Linked DNA regions of Homo sapiens: all the other regions are linked to region 2. Evidence: promoter capture Hi-C in 16 types of primary human blood cells and fetal thymus (Javierre and others, 2016). All regions are on one chromosome and are shown on one strand. Each heading gives the region's core, a stretch centred on a gene start or on the middle of the fragment in contact. The rest is flanking DNA. Distances are from core to core; before and after follow the strand shown.

Region 1 (3,173 bases), core at 460-2,959, 550 kb after region 2:
TGCTATACATACAATACAAGAAGTACAAGGTTCAGAAACAGGACAAAGAAGGAAGTGACTATCAGAGTACGTGAAGAACATCTCATGGAAAGTTAGACAGAGAAGTGAGTAGTCCTGTAGGGTCTTTACAGATGAAAAAAATTTCTAAAGAGATTATGGGAGAAAAGCATTCTAGACCACTGGAATATATACGCAAAGGCACAAGGAGTGAGCGTTAGTGTGTGGGGGGGTGTAAAACCACAAGTAGTGCAGTATTACAAAGTATAAAGTCTGAGGGACATGGTGAAAAATGAGATTGGACAGGTGTGCAAACAGACATCCAGATTTCACTCTGTAGGCATTAAAAGGTTTTAGGAAAGGGAATGTCATAGGAAGATATTCACTGTGTGAAGGATAAACTGGAAAAAGCCTAATAATGAACACAGAGAGATCACTTAGAAAAACTGAAGAATAATCTAAATAAAAGGTGACGAGGATCTGAATTAAAGCTGCAACAGTAGGGGTAGAAAGGAAGTAGCATAAATGAAAGCTTTACTTTTTTTAATTTTTTTTTTTAAGACAGGGTCTCACTCTGTCGCCCAGGCTGGAGTGCGGTGGTGCAATTTCGGCTCACTGCAGCCTCAGCCTCCCGGGTTCAAGCGATTCTTTTTTTTGAGACGGAGTCTAGCTCTGTCACCCAGGCTGGAGTGCAGTGGCGCAATCTTGGCTCACTGCAAGCTCCGCCTCCCGGGTTCACGCCATTCTCCTGCCTCAGCCTCCTGAGCAGCTGGGACTACAGGCGCCGGCCACCACGCCCAGCTAATTTTTTTTTTTTGTTTTTTTAGTAGAGACGGGGTTCCACTGTGTTAGCCAGGATGGTCTCAATCTCCTGACCTGGTGATCCACCCACCTTGGCCTCCCAAAGTGCTGGGATTACTGGCGTGAGCCACCGTGCCCGGCCTCAAGCGATTCTTACACCTTAGCCTCCTGAGTAGCTGGGACTACAGGGTGTGCGCCACTAATCAACCACACCCAGCTCTACCAAAAAATACAAAAATTACTTTTTTGGTATTTACTTTCACTAATTCTATTTCATTCTACATAGAGTTTAAAAATAAAGTAAAACGTTAAAAGGCAGGGCTAAATGAGGTGGCTCACACCTGTAATCTTTGGGAGGCTGACGCAGGCAGAACACTTGAGGCCAGCCTGGGCAACACAGCGAAATGCTGTCTCTGTTTTAAAAATAAAAATAAAAATGATGAAAGGTTAAAAGGCAAGTTACAGGGAAAGTAACTACTAGAAGACAATAAACTACTAACTTTATACAAATGCCAGGGAACCAGTTACTATGGAAGAAGAGATAATTTAACGAAAGGCACATTTATATTCTAAGAATGTTAATGTAGTCTTAATATGATCTGTTTATAGAACCAAATTCTATAAACGTGTATAAGTTCCTACTCTGTCAGGCACTATACTAGGGCTAGGCAATCAAGAATATAAATAGCTCCATGGCATTGGTCTAGATAATGATTTTTAAAAATATAACCCCAAAAGCACAGGCAACAAAAGCCATAGTAGACAAATAAACTGGATCAAACTAAAAAGCTTCTGCACAGCAAGGAAACAACAGAATGAAGAGGCAAGTTACAGACTGGGAGAAAATATTTGCTGATATATATCTGATACATATAATAAGGAGTTAGTATCCAAAATACATAAGGAACTCAACTCAATAGAAGAAAACAAATAACTGAATTAAAAAGTGGGCAAAGGACCTGAATAGATATTTATCAAAAGAAGACACAAAAATGTCCAACAGGTATACAGATCAGGAATAAGCAAAGCTTAACATCACTAATCATCAGGGAAATCCAAATTAAAAATACAACAAGGCTGGCCAGGCACAGTGGCTCGCACCTGTAATCCCAGCACTTTGGGAGGCGGAAGCAGGCAGATCACCTGAGGTCGGGAGTTCGAGACCAGCCTGACCAACATACAGAAACCCCATCTCTACTAAAAATACAAAATTAGACGGACGTGGTGGTGCAGGCCTGTAATCCCAGCTACTCGGAAGGCTGAGGCAGGAGAATCACTTGAACCTGGGAGGCAGAGGTTGCAGTGAGCTGAGATTGCACCATTGCACTCCAGCCTGAGCGACAAGAGCGAAACTCTGTCTCAAAAAAAAAAAAAAAATACAACGAGGTATCACCTCACAGCTGTGAGAATGGCCATTATCTAACAGACACAAGATAAGTGTTGGTGAGGATGTGGAGAAAGGGAACCTTTGCACGCTGTTGGTGGCAATGTAAATTAATATATCCATTATGGAAAACAGGATGGAGGTTCCTCAAAAAACTAAAAATAGAACTACTATATGATCCCAGCAATCTCATTTCTGGGTGCATAACCAAAAGAATTAAAATCAGTATCAAGCCAGGCACAGTGGCTCACATCTGTAATCCTAGCACTTTGGGAGGCCAAGGCAGGCGGATCACTTGAGGTCAGAGTTTGAAACCAGGCTGGCCAAGATGGTGAAACCCTGTCTCTACTAAAAATACAAAAATTAGTGGGGCATGGTGGTGCACACCTGTAATCCCAACTACTTGGGAGGCTGAGGCAGGAGACTCACTTGAACTTGGGAGGCGAAGGTTGCCATGAGCCAAGATCACGCTGCTGCACTCCAGCCTGGGTGATAGAGCAAAGACTCTGTCTCAAAAAAAATAATAAAAATTAAAAAAAAAAGATCGGTATCTCAAAGAGTTATCTGCATTCCCATGTTCACTGCAGAATTATTCACAATAGCCAAAATACGGAATCGACCTTTGAATGGATTAAAAAAAAGTGCATATACACAATGGAATACTATTCAGCCCTATAAAAGAGGGAAATTCTGTCATTTGCAACAACAAGGATGAACCTTGAGGACATTATGCTAAGTGACATAAGCTAGGCACAGAAGTCAAATACTGCATAATCTCACTTATATGAGGAATCTAAAACAGTCACACTCACAGAAGTAGAGAGAAGCCTGATTTCTGATTTATAGGTTACCAGAGGGTAGGGCGATCAGAAAGTGGCGTAGGCAGGGTAGGGAGATGCCAAGATGTTTGTCAAAGAGTACAGTTTCAGTCAGACAGGAGAAATAGGTTTTTGAGATCTATTCCACAGCAAGGTGACTACGGTTAATAATA
Region 2 (3,280 bases), core at 695-3,194:
AAAGGTTAGTCCTGGATTTTTGCCATTATAAGGTGAAAGATTGCAGTAGCTCATCCATCAGTTAAAGAAATGCAAGGTTATGGCGTCTCTCAGTCACCTGCTGCCACAGGAAGTTCTTTCCTATGTGTTTCTGTTGATAACACACTGTTGACTTGATATCGTGGGTCGTAGGACAGAAAACTACTACCAAGTCATTGAGACACAAAATGATGGAAATATAGATCTGCAGAACGTGAAAGAACCCCCAAACATCTGCTTCCTAACCTTTGCACAGAAACTCTGGCAGTGAATGAATGACTACTAGTTTCTAGCCTCTGGCCCAGACGGTTTGGATCTCCCCCACCACCTAGTCCCACCAACCTCCTTTCCCTGTATTTTCTTTTTTCTGTTTCTGTTTCTTTCTTTTTTTTTTTGGCGGGGGCGGGGCGTTAGGGGCGGCAGAGTCTCGCTCTGTCGCCCAGGCTGGAGTGCAGTGGCACTATCTCAGATCACTGCAACCTCCGCCTCCCGGGTTCAAGGGATTCTCCTGCCTCAGCCTCCTGAGTAGCTGGGACTACAGGTGCGCGTCACCACGCCTGGCTAATTTTTTTTTATCTATTAGTAGAGATGAGGTTTCACCATATTGGTCAGGCTAGTCTCGAACTCCTGACCTCAAGTGATCTGCCCGCCTCGGCCTCCCAAAGTGCTGGGATTACAGGCGTGAACCACCGCGCCCGGCCACCTTTCCCTGTATTTCCTATTCCAGTCATCCACAGGGTTCCCCCAGTTCAAACCTTCCTCAGCATGCCTTCCCTCTGTGAACTCTTAACAAACGATATAGCTGCCCCACCCCCACCCCTACACAATCTAGTACCCAATTACACTTCCTGCTAACCTTTTATTTTTTCAATTGTTCAACTATTTTTTCAAGGACTGCACTTTGATTTTTGTTGTTGTTGTTGTTACCCACAGAGCCTAACAGCAAGCCCTCAGATATGATTGGTTGATTGGGGCCGGGCGCGGTGGCTCACGCCTGTAATCCCAGCACTCTGGAAGGCCGAGGCAGGTGGATCATCTGAGGTCAGGAGTTCGAGACCAGCCTGCCCAACATGGCGAAACCCTGTCTCTACTAAAAATACAAAAATTAACCGGGCGTGGTGGCGCACGCCTGTAGTCCCAGCTATTCAGGAGGCTGAGGAAGGAGAATCGCTTGAACCCAGGAGGCAGAGGTTGCAGTGAGCCAAGATCGTGCCATTGCACTCCAGCCTTGGTGACAGAGCGAGACTCCATCTCAAAAAAAAAGAAAAAAGAAAAGAAATGATTGGTTGATTAGCTGAAGTGACCTAAGTCATGCTGGACAGGTGACCAAACAAGCGCTTCCATCCAGTAAATGGTACAAGGCCTCAATTACAAGCCGCATCTTCTACAAGGCGACGCCAATCTTTAAAAATTCCCACATAAAATCTCACTTGAGGAGACAGACAGGAAAAGAGAAACTGCAAAAAAAGGCACAAGTTTTCTCACTTCTAAAATAAAGATGTTTGAGGAACACACAACGAAAGTGCCTGCCAATCGGAAAAAGCCGTCCTAACAAAAGACCTTGGGCAAGTCACTTGGCCTCTCTGCGCCTATCTGTAAGGAGATGATACCCACCGCCAAGTCCAAAGAAGCGATCGAAGAGACAACGGTCTTGAGGCGCCCAGCCGGGTGCCAGGCACGAAGTGAGCGCCAGGGAAAAGGACTGTTATCAGAGCGGGCAGAGATTGAATCCCGCGGACGCGATCTGCCCACTGACCTGCCCTCCCTGGCGGTCCGGACCGGCCCGGCCCCGGGGCTGCGGGTCCTGGCCGCCCCTCGCCACCCTCCGCGGTCGCCTCCCTTGGGCCAGCTAGCAGCTGAAGCGAAGCGCGGCGCTCGCGTCGGCCGAGTCACACCATCAGGTGTGGATGCCGCTTCCGGGAGTTTGAATCCCGCGGCTGCAGGGCGGGGCACGTCACTGCCGGCAGGGCGCGGCCCGCAAGAAGGAGGAGCAGCGCGCGCGCGGCGGGGACGCGGCTCCCCGATTGGCTGCCGCCTTTGAAGGGCGGAGAGTAAACCTGAGGGCGGGCCGAGAAGTGGCTGGGGCCGCGGGGCGGGACAGAGGGCGGGAACACTTCCTCCCGGGCCCGCCAGCTAATTCTGGGATCGGGGGTTCTCTGCGGGCTTAGACCTAAACAAGCTTGGTGTCTCGCAGTCAGGGGCTGGTTTTGTGTTTATACGCTTTTAGGAGAAAGCAAATTACTATTTTTAATGGGATAAAACCAGTGACGATGGACCGAGACGAACTAGTTCTGCGCTCTTGAGCATAGATTCTCCCTGTGTGAAGTGCGGCCCCTCCTGCCCTGGGACAACGGGATTTCACAAAGGAGCACAGCCCCCTTGTCATCCCCTCGGGTCTCACTCTGTCGCCCAGGCTGGAGTGGAGTGGTGCAATCATAGCTCACTGCAACCTCAGTCTCCCGGGTTCAAGCGATCGTCTTGCCTCAGCCTGCCGAGTAGCTGAGACTACAGGCGCACGCCACCACGCCCGGCTAATTTTTTATTAAAAAATTTTATACAGACAGCGGAGTGGGGGGGGGGGGGGGTGGTCTCACTTTGTTTCCCACTCTGATCACGAACTCCTGCCTTCAAGTGATCCTTCCACCTCGGCCTCCTAAAGTGCTGGGATTACTGCCAAAAATCAGCAGCACAGCAGGGAGTGTTAACGGGAGAGATGAGAGGCACGCCCAGGTTGAACGCTGAGATTATGAATGCTAGCGGACCGGCTTTCAGACCAGACTGCTACCCTCCAGCCTGATATCTATCTATTGATCGATTCTAGCTCTTGATTAGCCGCTTTGAGAACGTTACTGCTGAGAGAAGAAGCACATGAAATGTTTAGCAGGGCCTCCCTTTCTCTCCTAGACCCAGCATAAACTCGCTGGAGATTTAAAACAGTAGATACACAGTAGCAAAACATCCTAGGTACACAATATTGTACAAAGGTTATAAACTCTAGATTAGGACTTTCTAGATTTAATTCCTTACTGCCCTGACTAGATGTGTCTCCTTGGATAAATTTATTTAACCTATTTGAGCCTCGGTTTCCCGATGTGTAAAATGATGCAAATAATAATATTTACTTCACAGCTCGGTTATAAGGATTAAATGAGGAAATCCGGCCAGGTGGAATGGCTAATTCCTGTAATCCCACCACTACGTGAGGACGGGGAGCGAGGATTGCTTGAGGTCAGGAGTTGGAGACCAGCCTGGGCAACACAGA
Region 3 (3,182 bases), core at 220-2,719, 630 kb after region 2:
ATAGTCCTAGCTACTCAGGAGGCTGAAATGAGAGGATCCCTTAAGCCCAGGAATTTGAGGTTACAGCTAGCGGTGATCATGCTACTGCACTCCAGCCTGGACAACAGAGTGCGACCCTGTCTCATTTTTTTTTTTTTTTAAAAGAAAGGGCCTGCCATGGTGGCTCATGCCTGTAATCCAGCACTCTGGAAGGCCAAGGAGGGAGGATTACTTAAGCCCAGGAGTTTGACACCAGCCTAGGCAACAGGGTAAGACCTCATCTCTACAAAAAATTTTAAAAATTAGCCAAGCACTAATTTCAATCACACTGATGGAGCAAAACAATCGTATGACCATCTTCATAGATGCTGAAAAACATCTGACAAAATTCAACAAACTTTCTTGTTAAAAACACTAAATAAAGTGGGTATTGATGAATGTTTCCTTAACATGATAAAATATAAATCCCTCAGCACAAAAGCCAGAGCTCTCCTAATGAGAAAATACTAAAGGTTTTAGTCCCAGGTACTCGGAAGGCTGAGGTGGGAGAATCACTTGAACCCAGGAGGTTGAGGCTACAAGGTGAGTCATGATCATGCCACTGCCCTCCAGCCTGGTCTCTAGCAAGAACCTGTCTCAAAAAAAAAAAAAAAAAGAGGGAGGGAGGGAGGAAAGAAGGGAGGGAGGAAGGAAGGGAGGGCCCAATTAAAATAGTGAGAAAAAACACCTACACATAATCTTAAGGAATTCTAAAATTTATTTATGGAAAAGTTTAACTCTCTTGAAAGACATAACATGTTCTTGGATAGGAAGACTCAATATCATCAACATGCCTGTTCTCCCTAATTAATTTATAATTATAGCTCAATCCCAATCAAATACTTTGAGTGTTCTAGAACTAGAGAAATTTATTGTTTGTTTAGAGAAATAAGGAAGAGTCACCAGGAAATCCCTGAAAAAGATAAGCGATGAGATGCAGGTAGCCCTACCAGATATTAAAACAACGAAGCTTCCAAAATTAAAAGTGCTGCATAGCACATGAATAGACATATAGACAATGAACAGAACCAAGAAACCCACATACAGTATCACTGCGTATAAAAATTCAGTACATGATAATGGCACCATCTCAAATCAACATGAAAAAGACCTACATTTTAATAAGAGGTACTAGGATAGCTGGGTTGCCACGTGAAAAAAGATAAAGAGCCACTCCTCATGCCACACCCCAGGAAAATGCAAACAGAATCAGATGCAACATTAAAAAACACCATACAAGTACCAAAAGAAAACATGGGTGGACTCCCCTATAACTCCGGAATCTGGAAAACTTTCCTATGACTCAAAATTCACAAGCTAAAAAGGGAAAGACTGATAAATTTTATTTCATAAAATAAAAAACTTTTGCACAGCAAAAAATAAAAGTATAACTACAGTAAAAAGACAAATGAAAAAAATGTTTCTAATGGCAATTTTAAAAAACTGAAATGGACAAAAAAGATTACTGAATGTCCTATCTAGCATATTTTGGGGTTATCTGTGCCTTTCACTGTCTTTTGGCTATTTTACAACTTTATAAATTGTAGAAAGCTGATACTAATGCAAATGACTCTTGTCCAAAAAAATGCAGATATATTTTTGTCAGTGGAATACAATTGATTACTGCCCTGTGGATACTGACCAGTTGTGTATCCATTTATATATCCATCTCAGCATTCCCAAATCCTATATTGTTTTTTGCCATTGCCTTTGAAACAGTTGTAACATCATACTGATTCCCTCTTAATAAGTTAAATACAATCTTTGGCACATATTCATTTTACATTTGTGTGAGGGTCATGATTTTACCTTTTTGAAAATTATCTTTTAATAGTTTTGGAAGTTTTACCAAAATGCCCAGTGCATTCACCTGACAGAGCCAAGAAAACTGCTTTATCAGATAATTGCACCTCATGGGCTACTCAAGCTTGGGTATTATCTTTTCTTGGCTCCCAGAAGTAAAACCCAAGCAGCAATATATACTTAACTTTGCTGCCTGTTTCTCTGGGTCATCCCCGCTTCCCCCATCCTCTCTACAAATTATATGTTCTGGTGTGGTTTCTAGTTACTGCATGGCCAGTAAGTTATCACCCCTAAATGGCAGCAATGATTGAGAATTCGATTTTATGATCATTTACTTGGTGATCCTTATAGACGGATGATAGAGATCACTTGGGTAAAAGATAAAAGAGACTTTGGTTTGTTAGTCTTTTTAACATATCTGTTTATTCTGAGCTCAAATCCAGTTAAGAATTTCATGTCCACCAAGAACAGGTCTTTGACATCTGGACCAATGAGTTTTTCTATCTCTGTGACTCTTACATCTCTTGACCTGTGAGTGAAGTTACAGAAACAAAGTTACAAAGCTCTGCATCTGTAATTCAGAAAGACTTTTACCTCTTCATTAAGTATGTAAAACAAGTTATCTCTATTAATAGTTTAAACTATAAAGTCTCTTGAATGAAAGAAACTCTGTTCTGACTGGCTTATTGATACAAATAAGTACTTATATAAATAGAATATTTGTAAAATTCCCCCAAAACAAGGAAATTGAACTTCTAATATGTTAAATGTGTTAGACTTAAGAAAAATTCTTATGGAAACTAACTCAAAAACATTTTTAAAACCCAAGGTCACCTAAATAAGATACAATTTTGGCAAACCTTGATAATTTCAGTTTTTAAAAATAGCTATTTCTTGTCTCTGATTAATCATTTTATTCTGCTAAGATTTTTTTTCCTAAACACATACAGGTTTACTGATCACATAAGCTAACATTACCCTACATAATATTTAAGATGATGAAAAGGTAAACTCGCGCTCAAATAAATTATTCTGACAAACTTTTAATTTAAACATGTATGAAAATAATTTCCAACATTTTTAGGTAACAAAACCTTGATATTAAGTTAATTAATAAATAATAATTGGATATCTAATTAATTTTTAGTACAACAGAACCCAAGACGACTGATTACTAAGCACAATTAAGTTTATATATTTGTTTCTTTATATGTTATATAAAGGCTATGGTTTTGGGACATGTTAATGAAAGTGTTCAGTTTTGCCACTTTAAGAAGGTATAAAAGGAATGTTTGTGGCTATAGGAGTTTATATTACGTGTGCTCATGAGTTTTCCAAGTGTGATAAAATTCTTGTGTACA
Region 4 (3,117 bases), core at 180-2,679, 600 kb after region 2:
CAAATTTACTCAGGATTTTTGAACTTTACTTGCTTCTCTAAGTCTGTCAAACAATTCAAATCACTGACCCAATTGACCACTGGTCCCCTTTTGATAACTTCAATGAGGTCTATGTGCCATTCATTGTCTGTAGGAAATGGTGATTGCATTTTATGGTAATTAAACATTCATACTTTGCTGAATGCAAACACTGGGTGGTTGATTAACATCAAACACAGAAATTTCAATCCACAGCAACATTTTAATGCTGCAGGTGCAGGCAAAGCTCAACCTCAAATTTTCCCACATATTAAGTGACTCATTAGGTCATCATAGTAAGGAAGCACATTCTGGTTTATTAAAAATCTCATTAATTTCTGAACAAAGATGCTCAGTGACCTCATTGATGCTGTAGTTAGTCTCTTGTTATCTGAATATCCTTTATACAATGGTTTTCTAATCATAACCTTTGGTGAACCAGGGTCATTTTGTCTGCTAAGTGCTCTAAACGTAAAGAAAGATAAATAGGACAATTCTTATAATTAAATATTTTTTATCCTGACTGAACAAATCTAGGTCTCTTTTAATAAATAATGTTTTAGCTGTATGGCAGAAAGTGTAGACCAACTTTCTTTAAGAAAAATACACACTGCTGTTAAACTTTTCAAAAAGTTTTAACATTATTAAATAATGCTGAGAACATAACTATTTATCATAAGCTTTTAAAGGAATTTTAGAGGATAACATTTTATAAATATTGTACTAACTGTCATTTTAGAAATTCAAAAACTGCAAATAGGGCCTTTCATTGTATGCATGTTTTGAGTTCACTTCCCTGCATGGAAAGAAATCCTGTTAAGTCAGTGCATTACTTGCTTCAGAAAAAGAGAATACTCCTGTCATTAGCATGACAACTGTGTTAATAGAGCATAAAGAGCATTCCCTAATACATATACTAATTCACTTCTTGAAAGTAACATACTTAATAATGACTTGTACATATGTACTATCAACTAAGACTTGAGTAATTTAATGAGAACAAAGGCAAATAATTTTAACATATTTCTTACCTTCAGTTTTTCTGCATCAGTCCTTACTTTAAGGAGTTCTGTAATAGCATCTACAAAACCCTGATGATGAAAATTACACATCTTTTCAATTTCCTTGTCATGATTACGGATACAAGCATCTAACTTTTCCATAAACTTCTTGTGCGCATTTGGTTGGTCATCATACACAGACCTGAATGTATATAAGAAAGCTAAAATTAACCAAAATGTATTATTTAGTAAGCCTGATCTTTGCAAGAGGTGATATCTTAAAATTAAATCTCTGAACAAATAAACTGGTGATAATATTACCTTTAGCAGAAATAATTTGCGTGAAAGTATTTTATTTCTTCTTGAACATGATAATATTAAAAGAACCACACAAGCTCTAGATATAGCATGAGGTATCTGGAAATAAAGGTATGAGGCTCAGGAGATGTGGGCCTAATACAAGTCTTTAACATACTAACATTCAAAAACAAAGAATTACTGAGTGAATGAATGGTTAAAGAATGAATGAACAAACTCATGATTTTTACAGCATTTACTATGTAAAGTAAACGCTCATGTTCTAAATGCTTTATATATTAACTCTTTAATCCCCACAACAAGGCTACAAAGTAGGTATTGTTATTACCCTTGTTTTACAGAAGAGTTACAGATTACTGAACTGCCATAAATTCCACAACCAGCACAAGTGATAGCTGGGATATGACTCCTGATAGTCCGGCTCCAGGGTTCATATTCTCAGGTACAAGCCCATATTGCAGTCACCACAATGTTTCCTAAACATGGCATATTCATTCCTACTGTCTCTCAGCTCATGCTGTCTCCACAGAGAGCGTACCCCTCTATTCACCATGCAGTAAAGGACTACCCTTGCCACTGATTCCTGGGAGGAAAGCCTTTGGCATACCCTGCCTGGTAAGTGTCTTCTTTGTTTACCTGGAAGGCTTTGACTGCCAAATAGCAGATGCTAACAGTGTGACTCACGGTGAGGCCTGAGGCCACACAGTTTTAGCTGTGGAGGGGCAGGAGGTCAGCAATGTGGGCAGTCAGCCAAGTCTACATGGGTAGTCAGTCATGGCTATATGACCAAACTCCAATAAAATTCCTGGATATCAAAGCTTGGATGAGCTTCCCTGATTGACAATACTCCATGCGTGTTACCACACATCACTGCTGGGAGCAGTAAGTGCTGTCCACAATTCCACTGAGAAAGGACAACTGAAAGCTCACTCGTGGAACTCTCCTAGTCCCTGTCCTATGTGCCTTTTCTGCTGTTGATTTTAATCTGTGTAGTTTTTTGAAAGTTTTTGTTGTTGTTGTTTTTGCTGTAACAAACAGTAACTATGAGTGTAACAACTTTGCTGAATTTTGCAAGTCCCTCTAGCAAATTTTTGAACCTGAGAGTGGTCTTGGGAACTTTCCAAACCTCACCCCACATCCGTTGCCCATTGTTTGAGGTTCATTTCAAGTCCCATTTCTTCCAGCAGGCCTTTGCCAATCATTCCCATGCCAAGTAATCTTTTCATCTGCAGGACAGGTAAACTTACAACCCCTTACAGTTATTCTGACACGTAATCATATATTACTTTGTATTGTAATTTACATGTTTTGTATTTAAAATATATTTTGTTTCCCCAAATAGACCATAAACTTCTTGAGGGTAGCCTCTGTCTTAGGTTTTTAATGAATACACTCTCTAATACAAGAGGTAACAATATAGGATACCAATTATTAAGAATTTAGACTCTTGGCAGCCAGGTGCAGTGGCTCACACCTGTAATCCCAGCATTTTGGGAGCCGATGCGGACAGATCACTTGAGGTCAGGAGTTTGAGACTAGCCTGGCCAACATGGTGAAACACTGTCTCTACTAAAAATACAAAAATTAGCTGGGTGTCGTGGCAGGTGCCTGTAATCTCAGCTACTCAGGAGGCTGAGGCAGGAGAATCGCTTGAACCCGGGAGGCAGAGGTTGCAGTGAGCAAAGATCATACTACTGCACCCCAGCCTGGGTGACAGAGTGAAACTCCGTCTAAAAAAGAAAAAAAAGAATTTAGGTTCTTGGCATCTATGCCTACATTC
Region 5 (3,305 bases), core at 679-3,178, 520 kb after region 2:
CTCCAGCCTGGGCACCATTGAGCACTGAGTGAACCAGACTCCATCTGCAATCCCGGCACCTCGGGAGGCCGAGGCTGGCGGATCACTCGCGGTTAGGAGCTGGAGACCAGCCCGGCCAACACAGCGAAACCCCGTCTCCACCAAAAAAATACGAAAACCAGTCAGGCGTGGTGGCGTGCGCCTGCAATCGCAGGCACTCGGCAGGCTGAGGCAGGAGAATCAGGCAGGGAGGTTGCAGTGAGCCGAGATGGCAGCAGTACAGTGCAGCTTCGGCTCGGCATCAGAGGGAGACGTGGAAAGAGAGGGAGAGGGAGACCGTGGGGAGAGGGAGACGGGAGAGGGAGACGAGCAATTGTGTTAACTCTATGTAAATTATTTCTATTAGAGATTATTTCTATTTAAGTCTATATTGTCAGTTTCAGGGTTTTGCCTTGGCTTTGGTGGAAAGAGAGTTACAGTTATTTTGGTTAAAAATAAAATAAATTAAAATTTCAAACAATTTGGCTAAGTTATAATTCCTTACAAATGGATTTATAATAATGGAGAAAGAAACATGCACTCCAAGAAGTTGGTTTAAGCAAGGAAACCTCAAACTAAATTCTAAAATATACTTTAGTAAGCAAACATAAAACAATTTTTGAAAATTTTTATACTTACAGGCAAATGAGTAAACACTTGAAAGATGCTTCTCAAAAAATTTATAAGGTCCATTAAATAACCACTAGCTCTTCCATCTGGCTCAGACATTGTCCAGTCATAATCAGCAAGCTGAACAAATTCATCAATTTTTTGATTCAGTTTGGTATATATTTCTCCTTCTGCTGCATGTCGAGCATCCTGACATGGGACAAAATAACAACAAAGACAAGAAACAGATAATAAAACAAGTGTTCTTACAATTCTAGATATTATTTTACATTTACCTTTGGTTTAATATTTTAGCCATTTATTCAAAGTCCAGGAAAACTGTTGGTTTTTTTTTTCTGGCAGTACTCTATTTATTTGACTGGATATCACATCACATCTTTTCTTAGTTCCTTTCTAACCTATCACCTTTTTTTGTCTTTATGTGATAGAATACTTTATGAGATATTAATTCCTGACTTGTTCTCACAACTCTAAGAGGACCCTTAGGAGAAACAGAAGTAGAAAAACGAAAGTTGCCAAGAACACAGAAGACCACCTCTATCTAACCCCTGATTCACTGAGAGCAATTAAGTTGGACTATCACAGAAGAAATGGAATATCTGCCAGTGCTTTGAGTTTAAGCAGGGGTGGAGGCAGAAGAGAAAGAGATTGAGATAGTTAATTTCTCTGAGAAGAAAGAAACAATAGGAGTGATGCCAGCAAAAATAACAGCGGGAGGATCTCCAAACATTTTCTCATCCATAAAAGTAACCAGAAAACTTATCAAAAATTGTCAAAATCAACCTTTTCAGAACTCTGAAAATTAGTTCAAAACTTGCAGAAATACAGGCATCATTTATTCAAGAAAAACAGCTAAATCTTGGTAGAAAAATGAGCTTTGTAGCATTTTAATGTGCCCTATTTCCATTATTCTTCCTCTGTTCCAGCTCTACAGTACTCTCAAAAGACAACATTCTAAAACTCTGGTGGAAACCTATAGCTTGCCAGCTATCAAAGCAGACAGAACAGAGCTGCAGCTCCTTCAAAGCCACATTCTCAGAGAATTATCATTATTTGACCTATCTGGTGGTTCCCTGGAAGACTCCATGCCTATTTACAGGGATGTCTTTATTTGACCTGAATCAGGACTTGCCTAGTACAAAAAGCCTTTTCCCCAGGGGCAGCTGTCAAAAACAATTAGAGGCAATAAGTTTAACATGGAGGATGCCTGAGATGGTAGGTAACAACTGGGACAAACGATAGGTCAACCAAAGGGCTTAAAAGGAAAAATTAGGGAATAAAATGTCCACAGATGACTCTGAAAAGCTCTAACAGATTCCTGGGCATCTAAACGGCCACATACATACATAGGGCTGTGTACACACTTGGGAAAGACCTAAGAAGGCTCCAAGCTCTCATTTATGGCTGACCTTGAAGCTCTGTGCAAGACAGAAATAAAACAGGGTAGTGACAGGAGAAAATGAAATTCTAGGCAGCAGTTTTATGTGACTAGCCAAAGGAAACTGTTGAAATAGCTGCAGAAGCTATGGGCTGATAAGACAAGACCCTGAAAAACAGGGTGTAAACCATGCTGGCTAAGACTGACAGGACTCAACATGGTGATAGATTTGGCCTAAGTTTCACCCAGGGCTCAATGTACACTCATAACATACTATATCACATACCCACCAGTGCCATGACAATTTTAGGAACACTCATATTTGGTGTAAAAACAGGTGGCACCACAGTTCCAAAAAAAATTCCACCTTTTTCCAGGAATCATCATGAATATTTCATCCCTTGGTTAAAGAAATTCATAAAGATAGCAGCTCCACCCCACCTTGTGCATGACTCACTCACTCTCTCTCTCTCAAGTGTGCCTGCACTCCCCTCTCTTGAATGTGTACTTTTTTGTTTTGCAATTAAGTCTCCATACTTTCACTATTTTCTGACTCATCCTTGAATTCCTTCTCACGACAGTATCAAGAGCCTGGACACTGGCTGGGATCAAGGTCCCAGCAGCATTTGGGGACGTCCCCTAGCCCACTGGTATCATGTGCAAGCAGGAAGTAAAAGTCAAAGCAGAGTGATTAACTTCCTATCTCAGTGTTTAAGACACACCCCAACATGTGCACGGAGCCCTTTGGCAAAGACTAGGGGACTTACAGGTTCCAGGCTTTTAAGCAGATCTGTATCCAATCACCAGATGACCACTAAGCTAACCAAGCAAAGACTTCAGTGGCCACATATGACAAAGAACACAGACTTACAGATTTAGTTCAGAAAGGTCACAAAACAAACAACAGATGGGAGAAACAACAAACCCTTGGGAGAGGTGAGAACTTCCAAAGTTGTCATCTTATATTATTATAAATGTACAGTTATCAACAAAAAATGACAAGTTATGCAAAGAAACAAAGTATGACCAATACACGGAAAAAAAGCAACCAATAGAAACTGTGAGGCAGCTCAGATGTTGAACTTATAAGACAAAAACTTAAGAACAAAAGGAAACCATATCTAAAGAACTAAAAGAAAATTATGAGAATACATCAATAAATAGGGAATATAAATAGAAATTATTAAAAAGTACAATAAGTGACGCGTGTAATCCTAGCACTTTGGGAGGCCGAGGCAGGTGGGTGGATTATCTGAGGTCAAGAGTTCGAGATGAGCCT
Region 6 (3,595 bases), core at 80-2,579, 870 kb before region 2:
TTATTCTTGCAATCCATAAAACTTCCTGTAAAAATGAACGACTTTAGGCGGGGCGCGGTGGCTCATGCCTGTTATCCCAGCACTTTGGGAGGCCAAGGTGGGCGAATCACGAGGTCAGGAGATCGAGACCATCCTGGCTAACACGGTGAAACCCCGTCTCTACTAAAAATACAAAAAAAATTAGCTGGGCGTGGTGGCGGGCGCCTGTAGTTCCAGTTACTCGGGAGGCTGAGGCAGGAGAATGGCGTGAACCCAGAAGGCAGAGCTTGCAATGAGCCCAGATTGCGCCACTGCACTCCAGCCTGGGCGCCAGAGCAAGACTCCGTCTCAAAAAACAAAAACAAAAAACGACTTTGGTGAAATTACTAAGCAGACAGAATTTACCCAAAGTTGTAAGATACTGAAATGCAGATACAGTTTTTTATTTTTATTTTTATTTTTTAGACAGTCTTGCTCTGTCACCCAGGCTGGAGTGCAGTGGTGTGATCTCGACTCACTGCAACCTCTGCCTCCTGGGTTCAAGCGATTCTCCTGCCTCAGCCTCCCGAGTAGCTAGGATTACAGGCGCACGCCACCATGTCTGGCTGATTTTTGTATTTTTAGTAGAGACAGGGTTTCACCATGTTGGCCAGGCTGGTCTCGAACTCCTGGAACTCAGGTGATCCACCCGCCTCTGCCTCCCTAAGTGCTGGGATTACAAGCGTGAACCACCGCACCCAGCCATGGATACAGTTCTTTATCAGCTAATGGTTAAAAATTAAAGCAAAAAAAAAATGCAAAATAAAACACTAAGAATCACAGACTTTTAAGTGACCAAGGCTGATGAGAAATCATTCGCCATGCTACAAACACGGCCAGAATGTCCGTCGAGGGGCAGGCATTACACACAAAAAATAAGCTTCTTTCTGCCCTCAGGACTGTATGGAGGAAAAAGACTACGAAAATCAGTATCTATAACAGCATGAGATAAGCAACGTGAGGAGAGGCACAAAATGCAATGAGGTGACCGAAAAAACCAAGTCCTCTCATTCTGAGAGGAGGAGCCCGATTTCCCCAAGGTTTTAAAAGAAATAAATAGGGCGAGAGTCAAAGAATCATACTCAGATAACCTTGCAAAATGCGCCCCTCCCGCCCGGCTTCCCGCCTTTGGCACCGACGCCCTCGGGGCTTCCCTCGTGCCAGTCCGCGCGCGCACGCCGGGGGGCAACCGGTCCAGGGCCGCGAGACAGTCACCGCGAGAGGGCGCGAGCCCGAACCTGTCTACGGAAGTCCCGCCCTCACTTCCGGCGGCGGAGGATTGGGAGGGACTGAAGGCCGTTTCCGGCTCTGGTAGTGTAGGGACTTCGGCACGTGTGTCATTCCCCGGGATTTCTGTAGTAACCCTGCTTCTGGTGAACTTGTCTGGCCGGCATTCATTTAAGGCCTAAGGATGAAGGCGGTAAGTGTCCTCAAAAGCCCGGTCGCCGCGGCCTAGGGCCCCTTCGGGTGATAGAGTCACTGCCTGAGTTAGCTTTTAGGCAGGTTTTCACCCGTGTCTAGGGGGCGGTGGTTTAGACTGGGGGCTTTCCATTCCTTACACCGAGCTCATCCTTGGTTACCCACTGTGTGCGCGCACCACTTCAGAGTATCACGAAGAGACAGGCACGGAGTTTTGCATGCGTGGGATTTCATACTTTGAAGGAATTTTTCAAGACCGTCTTTCGAACTCGTTTTTCACAAATGAGAAGCAGGGTCCTACCCTCAGCGAGTTTATAATGTGAGTCACGGTACCCATGAAGGGTAAAGAGATAGAAAAGCAAGTGATTTGTCCTGGTTCTCCCAGAAAATAAGAGGTAGTCCTGGGGTTCAGGACTAACTTTGGGATTTCTGAATGAGTCACCAGCAAGAGAAGTGGAATCCAAAGATCCGAATTCAGTTTTGCCCTCCTTAGTTTATGGGTCTTTTGGCAGCTTCATCAGTAATGTGAGGATAACAGCAGTCAGTACTCAACTAGGCTGTTAGAGGTGATTTGTTGGAGCACTTTGTAAGTAATAAAATCGTAGATAAATGTAAGTTTTATTAAAGACAGCCAGCATTTTGCTTTGAATGTGTTAAACTACAGGTGTGTTAAACTAGCCTTGAATAGCCACTTACCACTACTAGATCAGTGGTTCTTAACCTGTTTGGGGATCGTAGAACCCTTTGAATTGCTGTGAATTGGGATTGAATAACTGATGCTGTAGCGCTCTTCTGTAGGATTAAAGCCATCGTTTGGTTTTAGCTTTTATATGCAAGTCTGTGGCTGTGGGACATTGAAATTGTGGAATTGGTCTAATGAAATTTGTAATCAGTTCTCTTTAACCTGATTTAAAAAATAAGTTTCTGGGTATGCAGTATTCTTTCTGTTATTTTCTAGAGAAGAAATAAAAAACAGATCCCAAGCTTTCGCAAGTTAATAAAAACTAGTAAAGTCAAACTTGAAAACAAGCTAAAAAATAAGCAGTTTAAACAACAAAGCACTCTCAAGAAGTACCGAAAAGAACAGAGGAAACTAAGGCAAGCTGTGAAAGATGCTGTGTCTAAGAAACCCATTCCATTGGAGAACCCAAAGGAAAAGCGACCAGGTAATTGTGAAAACATCATGTGCTCTGGTTTCCATTGATTTATTCTGAAGTGTTCTTCATGGAAATAACTTTGCTTTCTAGTAATCGCTTTTCTTGTTCTCAGATCTTCCTAGAGTGGGTAAGGATAGTAGTCCTATAGGACTGCTATAAAGCATATATGCTTTATCACAGTCAGTATGAGAAAACATTTCAATACAGTATTCATTCAAGCTTCTGCTTTTAGTTTGTCTGGAAGGCAGATCTGAAGATGCACTACTTGGGAAAACAAACTGAAAGTACTCCGTTACATAAATATTGGGCAGTGTGCCAGTGCTGCCACTTTGCCATTCACCAGCAGTTAGGTAAGGTAAGAACATTGCTTGTCTCTGGTTCATTCTTCACAGTATTGCCAAGGTACACTTCTAAACTTCTGACTTTCTTTTCATGTGGAAACTTGGGGTGAAATTGAGTTGTAATTGTCATGGTTATTTTGTAAAACTATCTAAAAATTATTAAGTACTCAAAACTTGTAAGGAATATGACTATTTTGAGTCAGGCTAGTTCTACAACTTTGCTGGTACTTTTAGGGTATTCTTATTTGACTATATCAGATTATTAGACAACTATTCAGTCTTCTCAGGTCCATTTTTTAAAAATTATTATTATTATTTTAAATAGACAGGGTCTTGTTCTGTCACCCAGGCTGGAGTGCAGTGTGCAAAAATAGCCCACTACAGCCTTGACCTCCTGGGCTCAGGCAGTCCTCCTGCTTCAGCCTCCAAAAGTGCTGGAATTGCAAGGGTGAGCCACAGCACCCAGCTAAAGTTTTTTTTTTTTCTAATTTTGTGGGTACATAGTAGGTGTATATATTTATGGGATACATGAGGTACTTTGATACAGGCATACAATGCATAATAATCACATCAGAGTAAATGTGGTATCCATCACCTCAAGCATTTATCTTTGTGTTACGAACAATCCAGTTATACTTTTTTAGTTATTTTAAAACATAA

The links. The method cuts DNA at HindIII sites, captures the fragments that hold promoters and counts their contacts. A CHiCAGO score of 5 or more calls a contact.
Region 1: a contact is called between a fragment that was not itself captured here and the fragment with the promoter of CEP55 in region 2, in 1 of 17 cell types (M1 macrophages). The highest score is 7.5, in M1 macrophages.
Region 3: a contact is called between a fragment that was not itself captured here and the fragment with the promoter of CEP55 in region 2, in 3 of 17 cell types (naive CD4 T cells, activated CD4 T cells and naive CD8 T cells). The highest score is 6.6, in naive CD4 T cells.
Region 4: a contact is called between a fragment that was not itself captured here and the fragment with the promoter of CEP55 in region 2, in 3 of 17 cell types (naive CD8 T cells, fetal thymus and total CD8 T cells). The highest score is 5.3, in naive CD8 T cells.
Region 5: a contact is called between a fragment that was not itself captured here and the fragment with the promoter of CEP55 in region 2, in 1 of 17 cell types (M2 macrophages). The highest score is 5.2, in M2 macrophages.
Region 6: a contact is called between the fragment with the promoter of NOC3L here and the fragment with the promoter of CEP55 in region 2, in 4 of 17 cell types (activated CD4 T cells, naive CD4 T cells, fetal thymus and 1 more). The highest score is 7.0, in activated CD4 T cells.

What each region holds. Positions count from the first base shown.
Region 1 is chr10:92,943,776-92,946,948 of GRCh38, reverse strand. The region is part of intron 13 of EXOC6 (exocyst complex component 6); the gene reads right to left. Among named protein-coding and RNA genes, the nearest start is that of EXOC6, 97 kb to the right of the region's middle. The HindIII fragment of the contact is 239 bases long and covers 1,590-1,828 here.
Region 2 is chr10:93,495,276-93,498,555 of GRCh38, reverse strand. It overlaps CEP55 (centrosomal protein 55), which reads right to left and starts at 1,944. Exons shown (of 9, transcript NM_018131.5): 1 at 1,633-1,944. RefSeq lists a silencer at 1,616-2,125. The HindIII fragment of the contact is 5,966 bases long and covers 1-2,199 here.
Region 3 is chr10:92,866,268-92,869,449 of GRCh38, reverse strand. All of the region lies in intron 1 of EXOC6 (exocyst complex component 6), which reads right to left. Among named protein-coding and RNA genes, the nearest start is that of EXOC6, 19 kb to the right of the region's middle. The HindIII fragment of the contact is 957 bases long and covers 991-1,947 here.
Region 4 is chr10:92,891,453-92,894,569 of GRCh38, reverse strand. It overlaps EXOC6 (exocyst complex component 6), which reads right to left. Exons shown (of 22, transcript NM_019053.6): 2 at 1,050-1,221. Among named protein-coding and RNA genes, the nearest start is that of EXOC6, 44 kb to the right of the region's middle. RefSeq lists enhancers at 1-346, 1,679-2,178. The HindIII fragment of the contact is 1,457 bases long and covers 701-2,157 here.
Region 5 is chr10:92,971,585-92,974,889 of GRCh38, reverse strand. It overlaps EXOC6 (exocyst complex component 6), which reads right to left. Exons shown (of 22, transcript NM_019053.6): 18 at 658-837. Among named protein-coding and RNA genes, the nearest start is that of CYP26C1, 88 kb to the left of the region's middle. The HindIII fragment of the contact is 8,426 bases long and covers 1-3,305 here.
Region 6 is chr10:94,360,673-94,364,267 of GRCh38, reverse strand. It overlaps NOC3L (NOC3 like DNA replication regulator), which reads left to right and starts at 1,329. Exons shown (of 21, transcript NM_022451.11): 1 at 1,329-1,438; 2 at 2,396-2,603. The coding sequence starts at 1,430. RefSeq lists a silencer at 1,126-1,255 and an enhancer at 1,396-1,655. The HindIII fragment of the contact is 1,523 bases long and covers 901-2,423 here.